Regions from separate parts of the Homo sapiens genome. Here all the other regions are linked to region 2. The links are contacts of gene promoters, found by promoter capture Hi-C in blood cells and fetal thymus (Javierre and others, 2016). All regions are on one chromosome and are shown on one strand. Each heading gives the region's core, a stretch centred on a gene start or on the middle of the fragment in contact. The rest is flanking DNA. Distances are from core to core; before and after follow the strand shown.

The links. Contacts are between HindIII fragments. The CHiCAGO score rates a contact against its expected background, and 5 or more counts as called.
Region 1: a fragment that was not itself captured here is called in contact with the fragment with the promoter of ZNF23 in region 2 in 1 of 17 cell types (total CD8 T cells); the score reaches 5.0 in total CD8 T cells.
Region 3: a contact is called between a fragment that was not itself captured here and the fragment with the promoter of ZNF23 in region 2, in 1 of 17 cell types (naive CD4 T cells). The highest score is 5.4, in naive CD4 T cells.

The regions. Positions count from the first base shown.
Region 1 is chr16:72,086,351-72,090,016 of GRCh38, reverse strand. It overlaps TXNL4B (thioredoxin like 4B), which reads left to right. Exons shown (of 4, transcript NM_017853.3): 3 at 879-1,030; 4 at 3,215-3,666. The coding sequence ends at 3,380. Among named protein-coding and RNA genes, the nearest start is that of TXNL4B, 5.4 kb to the left of the region's middle. The HindIII fragment of the contact is 1,563 bases long and covers 1,429-2,991 here.
Region 2 is chr16:71,460,242-71,464,019 of GRCh38, reverse strand. It overlaps ZNF23 (zinc finger protein 23), which reads left to right and starts at 1,773. Exons shown (of 5, transcript NM_001381984.1): 1 at 1,773-1,810. LOC124903709 (a long non-coding RNA gene) reads right to left here and starts at 1,708. Exons shown (of 2, transcript XR_007065105.1): 1 at 728-1,708; 2 at 1-87. RefSeq lists enhancers at 1,655-1,814, 2,085-2,174. The HindIII fragment of the contact is 7,082 bases long and covers 1-3,778 here.
Region 3 is chr16:72,011,008-72,014,729 of GRCh38, reverse strand. It overlaps DHODH (dihydroorotate dehydrogenase (quinone)), which reads right to left. Exons shown (of 9, transcript NM_001361.5): 2 at 2,468-2,680; 3 at 58-257. Among named protein-coding and RNA genes, the nearest start is that of DHODH, 4.1 kb to the right of the region's middle. The HindIII fragment of the contact is 3,701 bases long and covers 358-3,722 here.

The sequences.
Region 1 (3,666 bases), core at 961-3,460, 630 kb before region 2:
AGGACCAGAGGATTCTACCCTCAGTCATAAGCAGGAGGAAATACCACAGAGGTCAGTGATGTAGACACTGAAGCCACACTGCCAAAGTTCAAACCCCAGCCCTACTGCTCAGGAGCTGTGTGACCTGGGGCAAATTACTTTACCTTCCTGTGCCTCAGTTTCCCTATCTATAAAATGGGGACTCTGATAGCATATACCTTATAAGAATGATGTAAGGATTAAATGAGTTAACAAATGTTAAGCACTTAGGACAGTTACCACATAGTAATGTTATATAAGTGTCTGCTACTAATTATCGTGGTTTTCATTTCTGGGAGGATTGGGAGGAAGGAGACGTTAGGGAATTTCAGTATCCACATAACATATTTCTAAGTTGTGTTGTTTTAAATGAGCATGGGCTACTTTTATAAAAGCATTCAAAGAAAGAAATTAAAGGAAGAAATAGATTCACACAGTTTTCCCCAAGGATTTGTATGCTCAGCTCTTAACACGGGATGGCAGCAGTAGAAATGGCGGGTAGAGGTCTTAGTTCTGGGTTAGGTCTCTCTCCACAATGAATAGACAGGAATACTCCCATGCTGTCACCCTCCTAAACTCACACAGTTTTCCCCAAGGTCCCCTTCTAACCTCACACAGTTTTCCCCAAGGTCCCTTCCTAACCTCATACAGTTTTCCCCAAGATTCCCTCCTAACCCCGTTGCAGTGAATGAGACTCTGGAGGATGGGGTTATGCTTTGTCTAATGTGGGAGCCACATGGGCTGCATTGTTGGCCCAGGAGTTTTTTCAAACAAAACACTCTGTTGTAGTAACAAGTTTCACAGAAGAAACATTAAGCTGCCTCTCATATTGTAACCTTTGTCTCTCTCGTCATTTGCAGCTTTCTAAGACCTCTTCTGACTTAAGTAAAATGGCTGCTATATACCTGGTAGATGTGGACCAAACTGCAGTTTATACACAGTATTTTGACATCAGTTATATTCCATCTACTGTCTTTTTCTTCAATGGGCAGCATATGAAAGTGGATTATGGGTAAGTGCAGTTGATCTGAAGTTAATTGCAACCTTGTAAGTTTCCTTGGTAAGCATTTTCAGTAGCTTGCCTATTTCCATGTGATGTTGGCTCTGTGAGTCTTATATCAGTACTGTTTCCCCAATTGACGCACTCTCTAATTTTTTATGCAAAACCTTGCTACAAAATGAGAGTGCTTCTGGTATGATTGTCAAATTTTATTTATTTTTTTAATAGTGCATACACATGGTTTGTCAAATTTTAATTTCCGACTTAAGTATGAAGAAATAGTACAGGTGGCAAAGCACTACCATCCATAAGTCTATAAAATATAAAATAGCCATATTAGCTAAATAAAGAACTCTTAAAATTTTCCCAGGAATTTCATTTGAAACAAAACATGTAGTTTTTCTTAAGCTTTTGGACTGGTAAGTGGCATTTATGAAAGAAACATTCCTTCTAGCAAACTAAGATGTGCTTCTCTCTTGCAAAGTTTCCTGCTTTTCGCCATTGAATTTTAAATCATTCTTCAACAAAGCCTGTCAAGAATAAGTAACATGATGTCCTCTTTAGTGCCTTCCACTCCATCCAATTACCATCTCAATACTTAATATTGATGATTGGGTGCATCCATGATTCTGATCATTTCTTACTGTGGTTGATGTGTCCACTTATCTAGATCTGTGTACCCTTTTTGTCTTTATTTGAAAGTATGTGAAATATTATCTGTTTTAAAGTGTTTTAGGCTGGGCATAGTGGCTCACGCCTGTAATCCCAGCACTTTGGGAGGCCAAGGCAGGCGGATCATTTGAGGTCAGGAGTTCAAAACCAGCATGGCCAACATAGTGAAACCCCATCTCTACTAAAAATACAAAAATTAGCCAGGCATGGCCAGGCGCAGTGGCTCACGCGTGTAATCCCAGCACTTTGGGAAGCCGAGGCAGGCAGATTATGAGGTCAGCAGATCGAGACCATCCTGGCTAACACAGTGAAACCCTGTCTCTACTAAAAATACAAAAAATTAGCTGGGCGTGGTGGCGGGCGCATGTAGTCCCGGCTACTCTGGAGGCTGAGGCAGAAAAATGGCATGAACCCAGGAGGCGGAGCTTGCAGTGAGCCGAGAGCGCGCCACTGCACTCCATCCTGGGCAACAGAGCTGCCGTCTCAAAAAAAAGATTAGCCAGGCATGATGGTGGGTGCCTGTAATCCCAACTACTCAGGAGGCTGAGGCAGGAGATTCGCTTGAGCCCAGGAGGTGGAGGTTGCAGTGAGCAGAGAACGCACCACTACACTCCAGTCTGGTGACAGAGCAAGGCTCCATCGCAAAACAACAACAACAACAACAAAAAAAAAACACAAAAGTATTTTAAAGCTGTTTATTCTACTGGAACACATTTGATGTAAGTATTAATTTGGTACAACCTTTTATGGGGGCCAGTTCAACATTATGTATCAAATAGTTTAAAGTTTTTAAACTTTTTAACCCAGTAATTACACTTCCAGGACTTTAATATGATGTTGCAGATGCACATTTAACAAATGAAAGAAATATATGTCAGCTAGAAAAAAGCATATTACTGAATAATTTGTATGACATAATTCCCAATGTTGGGAAAAAAGAAGTTTGTATCTGCACATACACACACACACACACACACACACACACACACACACACACACAAGATTGGAAGGATAGACACTGAAAAGTGACCTCTGGCCTCATCCGTGATTTTATTTATTTCTTTAAAATTTTTACAGTAACATACCTGGTGTTTGAGATACTTTTCTAAAAAATCAATTTTTTAATACCTACCACTCAAAAGGCCATGAATATTGAATGGGCTTTGCACAATGCCCAGGCAAAAGCAACAACAGCAAACGAAGAAACAATGTGCACTCCAACACTTGGTGAAATCTGCTTGATGATTTGAGAAGTGATAAAAATAGATTTTGTGATTACAATAGCTTTTGAAGCTAAAGCTTTGCACATGACAGAGCTTTCATGCTAGTGGCCCACAGCACTGGGTTGAGTCATTTACTAAATGGAAAAAAATGATTGAAAAATTAATGTTGGGCTTTATTTCTGAAGTCTCATTGACAAGAAGAAAATAACAAAGCTGTTTTTCATTTTGTTTATCCTGAAAGTCTTCAACAAGTGATTACTCAAAGTTCTTAGAGCAGTTGTTTCTCTTCTATGCTGTCTAGATCTCCAGATCACACTAAGTTTGTGGGAAGCTTCAAAACCAAACAAGACTTCATAGATTTGATTGAAGTAATCTATCGAGGAGCAATGAGGGGGAAGCTTATTGTCCAAAGTCCTATTGATCCCAAGAATATTCCCAAATATGACCTTCTCTATCAAGACATTTAGTACATTAATTGCTGTCAAAGATGAAGAAGAAGGCACATCTTGACACAGTACCTGAATCCAGCTGTGCTGTGTTTCTGGAGTCCTTTGGAAACATGTGTCCCAGAGGAGAAGAGGTTTGACTTGCGTGTAGAAAACCCGGCCCCTGAGGAAAAGACCCCACTGGTTCTCTGATGACCTGGGATGCCTAACTGTCTACTCCCTGCAAGCCTCAGAGCAGCCAAGTCATTGGTGTTCATTTTCCCCACAGTGATTTTTGTAACTTCTCTTTCTAATGTTTTTCTTTATC
Region 2 (3,778 bases), core at 524-3,023:
TTATGATGCAAACATTTGGGGCCAGCATTTATGTGATCTGATTCCTTCCTATTTCTTTCAACAAGTCCTCACTCCTGATTTCTGACCCTAGAAAGAAGTGAAAACCAGAACTTATTGACAAGAGCAACGTAATCCCCAGCTATTACTCTGCCCAATCATTTTCTTAATGAACTCATTTTGGAAAACAGTGAAGATCAGGGTCAGGGCAAGGCAGAGAAGGGCACCTGGCCATGGTCACTGTCAAGGTCCAAGGCATAAGACATATCCTACCCTTGGGGACACACAAAGTAGGCTTCTGCCTAAGAGTTAGGGCTGGAGCCTTTGGACCATTGTCAACAACAAATGTTTATTGCTCTCCTTCTTTCTGCCAGTTATTCTCTAGCTGAGGATGATGATGTTGAACAAGATAGATACAGTGTCTGTTCCCTGCAGCCACCAGAGAAGACAGACATATAAATAAACTATCACCATTAAGTAAGTACACAGTGCTGTGATGGCACATAAATGAGTGTCCTGCCTTATTCTGGGTGATGAGGGAAGGCTTGCTTCCCATGCAAAATGGGATTTGAGCTCACACTTCCAGTAACAGTCAAGATGGAGGGTAGGAATGGGAAGGGAAGGGCATTCTAGATTTAGAGAACAGCATTTTTAGCATGTAGGGCTGAGGTAGAGTCAGGGAATGAATGGGAGTGATAAGAAGCCACAGAGGCAAGTGGGAGCCAAATACCAGTCTCCAGTGCAGCAGCGTTGGATGGATCAGAGCTGGAAGGAAGAAAAGCCCACATTACCAGGGTTAGGGGGTGTGTGAGGGGGTGGGGATTTTAAGGGTCGTCCAATCCAGTGGCATTTAGTACTGTCTCCCTTCCCCCAGGGCTCATTTTGGAATTTTATGGTAGGTATTTTGTTATATTTGGTGTCAGTGGTAACATTGCTACTAGCGTTGTGGATAGGAGCCAGGATCCTGCAATGTACAGGACAGTCCTGCCCACTGAAAAAATGTTCACACTTTCAAATGTCTTGCTGAACATTCAGGTAGGTGAAAATTCTATTTCTAAATTATCTGAATCTAAACCTGTTTTCTGGATAAACATGTATTTTTGCACAGTTTTAACATACACTGATCTTCCAGGAATGTAATTATTGTATAATCAAGAGACGATTGTCCTGTGTTTCATTCAGAACTTCACGAAAACATGTTTGCCATTTTGGATCATAATTTTGTGACTTTTGCAACAATGTAAGTCACAGCTTTGTGGCTGTGGCACTCAGACAACGTCTATGTGTAAAGGCGACCACCTTATTAGGTCTCCTGCAGCAGCCAAGACCAAACACATTGAAGTATGTGTTTTTAAACGACAGATGACGGTCCTCTTTTTTTTCTCTTTCATTACACTTAAGGCATAACATTAGTTTTTAATATGTAGGTGTGTATGTTATGTATGATTTTCTAGGCCATTATATATGAATATCAGGTCAGGAGAATAAGATGGACATTACAAACTATTTGTTAGAAAAAGGGGGCATTGGGTGTGACAGCGCGCCATCCACTGGTCCATTTCCAAGACTCCCACACGTGGCTGCACCTGCAGCTTCACCTCCCCGGGCTGGGTCCCCGCTTGGCTCTGATTCTTACCTGCCCCATTCCCCAGGGGTAACAGTCACCGTGGGCCAGACCCGAGCTAGCCGACAGGGATGCGGCCACAGCTGGCCGGGCGTGACCACCACCGAGGCGCAGCGACCTTGCTCCTAGAGAGGCCCGGCCGCCTGGTGACGCACTTCCGGCAGCGCCGGGGAGCAGTCCGCTACGGAGGTGAGTGCAGGGCTCCGGGCGCTGTGTGCCGTGCCCTGTCCCCCAGGCTCTGGGTCCGGTTGAGACGCACTCCCACCCTGGGTGCTGCAGGGTCTCCCGTGGCCTACGCTGCCAGGAGGCCCAGGCTGGGAGAGGGAGCAGGGCGGCGGCCCGGGGTGCTCTTCCGCGCTCCTCGACTCCAGCTTTGGTCTTTGTGGCTCAATAGCTTGCGCCCATTGGAAGGGGAAACGCACGTTGCTGTCCCAGCCACGAGGCCCTGAGCATTTAGCACTTGGTCGACGGGGGAAGATGTGTCGGTGCAGCTAAAAGATGGAATATTTGCGGGCGTGAAGCGGCCCGAGGTGATACCACAAGTCTTTTGACATGCTGAGGTCTGGCAGGAACATTAACCTATGTGCATCCCGAGTATGGACCGTGTGCTCCCAGGCTCCTGACATAGGGTCATGAATTAGGGCCGAGTGGGAGCGCAGAGCCCCTCCCAGTCACCCGGCAGCAGAAGCAGCCCGGCTTTTGGAGGACATTGTCTCCTGGAGCAGTGTCAGTCCCAAAAGGTAACTCAGCCCTGCTTCTCTCGGCTCAGGGTTGACAGTGACCTGGGAATGACTTCTACAACGTAATTACGAATTCACTCAGTTTTAGAATATATTTAGTAGTCTCAGAATCGCTAATTCATACCCCCATGAAAAGCAAATTTACTACCTAAAGTACAGTACTTGGATACAGGTCTTTTTGTCTTTACTCTTATGGTATTTAGTCAAAATACTGTTTTCCAAAGTTGCTTACCCCTTTTCTTTCCTACCACTTAAGTGTGGTTATGTTCACTGTAGTATAGTTAAGCACATTGGCTGTTCTTTGTATTACATTTTGGGTCCTCAATTTCACCCCATCCTTGCTGGTTTATATATTTATTTAAAATATATATTTATATGTTACATATATAGTAGTAAACATCCATGAACACACCACCCAATTAAGAAAGAGAAGATTGCCAGTACTGCTGAATTTATCAATGTGTTCCTCCTCCTCAACCCAACTCCCAGCCTCCAACCCCTAGAGGTAACAGTTATATTGACTTTTGTGTTAATTGTAGCCCTGTTATTTTAAAAAATAATTACATATGCATGTATCTGTAAGCAATGTACTTAAATTTTTTTTTTGAGCTTCATATAAATGGCACCATTGTGTGTATAAGTCATCTGGGACTCGCATAATTCAATGTTAAGTTTCCAAATTCATTCTGTGTGTAGCTTCTGGGTAATGTTCCATTGTAAAAACTGTATGAAAATTTATCGATGTATTTTCAATGGACATGTGGGTTGTTTTCAGTGTTTTGTTATTAAAATGTGCTGATAATATTTTTGTACGTACTTCCTACATATGAGAGTTTCTCTAGTGTGTAAGTTTTTAAAATTAGGCACAAATGTTGAATTATGTTAAACATCTTTGGCATCTGTTGAGATGGACAGTGTGTTTATCTTTCTTTGATTTATTAATGTGAAAAATATACTAATTAGTATCTTCGTGGGATAATCCTACTTACTCATGATGTATTTAATGAACTATTGGAGTCTATTCCTTGATAGAATTTTTGCATTAGAATTCATAAATGAGACTGGTCTGTAGTTTTTGCATCAGTATTGTGCTGGCACCATAAAAAGAATTGGGAAACTTACTTTGCTGTGCTCTGCTACGGTTTACATAGTGTTAGAATTACTCATTTCCGAAACATTGAAAGAATTTGCTCATGACACATCTGAGCTCAGTGTTTTGTGAGAGTTAGTTCTTCACTGGCCATCTTGGTTTAATTAGGTAAAAGTAATCAAGGATTATGTAGAAAATCTATATAATGTCATAACAGGAAAAAACCTGGAATCGTATTTAAAAAAAAAAACTATCCCCTTGGGAGGGAGCCAAGAGACCAAAGAATGCCTTGGACGAGTCCAGCTTGGCAAGTAGATGAGTTTATTA
Region 3 (3,722 bases), core at 959-3,458, 550 kb before region 2:
TGAACGCCCCCAGCTGGAAAGAGGGCATCCCCCGTTAACTCTGGGCCGCTCACCTACCTGTTAATGACAGCTTGGTCCTCAGGGAGGCGGAAGACTCTGGGTCTAGGGTTTCCTTCCTGAGGTTTTGGAGTCACACTTCCTATCTCAACAAAACCAAAGCCCATCTTATAAAGTCCGTCCACGGCTTCCCCATGCTTGTCAAATCCTGCAGCAATTCCTACTGGATTTCGGAATTTATGGCCCAGAACTCTCACTTCCTGGGAAGAGGAAGACAAAGTCAGAGGCACGCTAAGGCTATCCCGGTATTTCTCAAAGCATGGTTCCTGGCACAGCTACATCAGAATGACCTGGGAAGCTTGTGAAACCTCAGATCCCAGGGCCCACCCCCAAGGTCAAAATCTTTGGGGGTGGAATGGAGCACTGGGGGAACTATTTTTAACAGTGCTGGCTCTCCAGGGGACTGTGACACCAGCTAGAGTTTGAAAACCACGGGGCTTTATTATTAGCAAGCCTGGGGGGAGAAATGGTGTTTCCACCGTGGGTTGAAGCGGAGACGAGCACTGTCTTTTCCAATTGTGGTTAAGGTTCATACCTTCTTATCAACTAGCCTTGGTGGGAGGGAGTAGCTCGCTGGTGTCAGGCCCTAGATAGTGCTTCCCTGAAACCAAGGCGTGTCAAGCAGCAAAACCCTTTAATCAGCTTAATAAACATCAGCTCCAGCTGTGTCCCTCCTCATCCGGGCTGGCAAGAAGCCCCAGCCACGTCCCCCAGCCTCCCACGGGGAACCAGAGGAAGGAAGATGTTCAGCTGGGCAGAACTGACTGATGGGCTCCAGCGACCTTTCAGGAGACTAGCAAAGGCCTCCCGGGGTGAACACGGTCGGATCCTGGAAGCAGGGGATTAAGAGAGATGCTCCAAGAAGGAAGAGCAACAAATGAAGGTGAGAATGCTCACAGCACCTCAGGAGACTGGTAGGCAAGATGTGTAGGGGCCTTCCTCCAGGACCGTGGTTCTCAGCTCCAGCTGCACCACAAAGGCCCCTGGCAGCTTTCAGGTCCTGCTCTCAGATGTGGCGGTGAAACTGGTCTGGCACCAGGCCAGGGCATCTGAATATTCCAAGTGCACCCCCGGGGGATTCTAACATGCCTGACATAGGTGAAGGGTGGAGAGCCAAACCAGGAAAGTTGTGAAATCAAGAATCCTGGTTACCGGTTAAAAAGTCTGAGTCACATTCTAAATGAGCTGCTGCAAGTGTGGGCCCACGCAGAGGTGTTGAGGACAACACCTCAGAGGTCAGGTTTGCCTGTCTCTGTCATCTGTGTTTATACAGACACAGCTTGCACCCTCAGGCACCCCGCACTTCCTTCTAAATTCACCCCATCTCTGCACCCCACTCATTATTCACTCCCATTTTACACTGGTTCCAGGGCTCTCAAACTAGCAGTCTGAGGTGAGGACACCTTAACGGAGTGCTCTTTCTGAGCCTACAGTGCCTGTTAGTGTGTGAGCATGGCCAGTCAGGGGAAATGACACGTCTGCTCAACACCATATAATCAGATAGTGAAGAGGAGTCTAAGGTAGGAAGAGAAAATGCGGTGAAGGCCCCTTTAATTTATAACAGTGACCCTTCCCACCAGAGTTCTGAGGGCTTCTTGTTTGCATTTTCACACTCATCATTCTGATGTCCTCCCATTTGGTAAGAAGCCTCTCGAAAGGAAACTGCCAAGGCTTCCATGAGGAAGCAGCTTCCATGAGGATGGGGACTCTTTTATTCGGTTTGCTGCACTAAGCCCGGAAGGTCACATGAAACAGAGGCCCTTAGCCTTCCGCTGACACTGGCCTCTGCAGTCAGAGGCTGTATCTACACTTCTGCCTACACACCCTCTTCCTGCCCTAGAGGCTTTCCTGGGACTCTAGGCCAAAGATTTCAAGCATATGGAGAGGGCCCGTGTGCTGAACACGTGGCTGAGTGAGGCTGGGACACGATGCTCCTGCCTCTCACCAGTGCTTAATGACTCTGGCAGCTTCCCCATTTAGCTGAGGGGAAGACTGAGCTACCCACGACCTCAGCAAGGCAGGACAGTGGCCAAGGGGCGGGAAGCCAGCGTCAGACTCTGTGGGTTTGAATCCTGGTCCTGCTACCTCCTAGCTGTGTGACTTGAGTTCCTTTATGTTGCTAATCTGTTCCTCAGTTTCCTGATCCATGGCTGGGGATGGTAACAGGATCCAGCTCATGGAGCAGCTGGGAGGATCAAACAAGAACACCGCCTAACACAATCCCATATACGTAATAGATAATCATCGTTGCTAATTACATGACATAAAATAATAATGCTCAGACTGAATTCCAAATCCCCACTGCTCACTTGGGGTTCTGGTTTTCAAAAAGATCAGTCCCAGCTGAGAAGTTTAGGGGACTGCAGCCTTCGCCTTTGTATTTAATGTATAGGGTGTCTGGGAGCACTACCAGCATGTCAGAGTCTTGAAATCTGGCCCGTGGAAGGAGCCCCAGGGAGGTGAAGCGAACAGCCAGTCTGTGGGCTGACTCCGGGTCCAGCAGCCCCTGCAGAGTCGGCATCAGGTGTTCAGCATAGAAACGCTCATCTCCCGTGGCCATCAGGTAGGAGGCGAAGAGAAGTCCTCCTCCCCCCAGGATGATCACAGCATCCTGGGCCCGCTTCTGCAAAAAAGAGCATATTAGGGGGGTCCCCCAGGCCAGGCTGCAGCACCCTTCCTGAGCCCTTCACACCCAGGTACACAGAGGGCATAACGGCAGGTCACATGAAACAGACGCCCTTAGCCTTCCGCTGACACTGGTCTCTACAGTCAGAGGCTGTATCTATACTTCTGCCTACACACCTTCTTCAGGCCCTAAAGGCTGTCCTGGGACTCCAGGCCAGAAATTTAAAGAGGGACAGTACTGTCCCCTAGGGTGATCGTGGTGGACACTGCTACTGGTTACAGTGACAGGGTAATGCTAATAGATGTGGTGGGCAGGAATCCATAAAGTCAGACATCCTTCTTGGCTTGAGACTATCTGACATGAACTGCCCCATTTCCTGTGTGACTTTTGAACATTCTGACATTTGTGTGGGTAAAAATTATCCGTTCATATTATCTAAGCCAAACTATATTTTACCACATAAACACAAACTGTCTTTCCTGACCTCCTGGTCTCAAGCAATCCTCCCCTCCTCAGCCTCCCCAAGTAACTGGGACCACAGGCACATGCCACCAAGCCCAGCCAATTTTTTGAAGAGATAGAGCCTCTTTATGTTGCCCAGGCTGGTCTTGAACCCTTAGGCTCAAGCAGTACTCCTGCTTTGGCCTCCCAAAGTGCTGGGATTACAGGCATGAGCCACCGTGCCCAGCCTCTACATGGTTTTCACATACAGTACAAATATCTTGTAAATTGAGGGACAACTGTACAGTTTCACATAGAACATTCCCAAGAATTGTTCACCATTTCAGAAAATCTCATCGGGAATGGTACAGTGCTTTCCTGGGGTGCCTGATATGTAACACACCTGTGTACCTGCATTTCTAAGTAGAGACTTAAACACAACTATCTCACTAGGGGAGTCATAGCAATATTTACATACTGAAATACATGTAATTTTATTATTAATATAAACTACTTTTACATTTTCTCCTTTATATTCCAGTTAGGGTATTAATTATGCTGGCTTTTAAAAATTGCACATAGCTGGACTTGGTGGCTC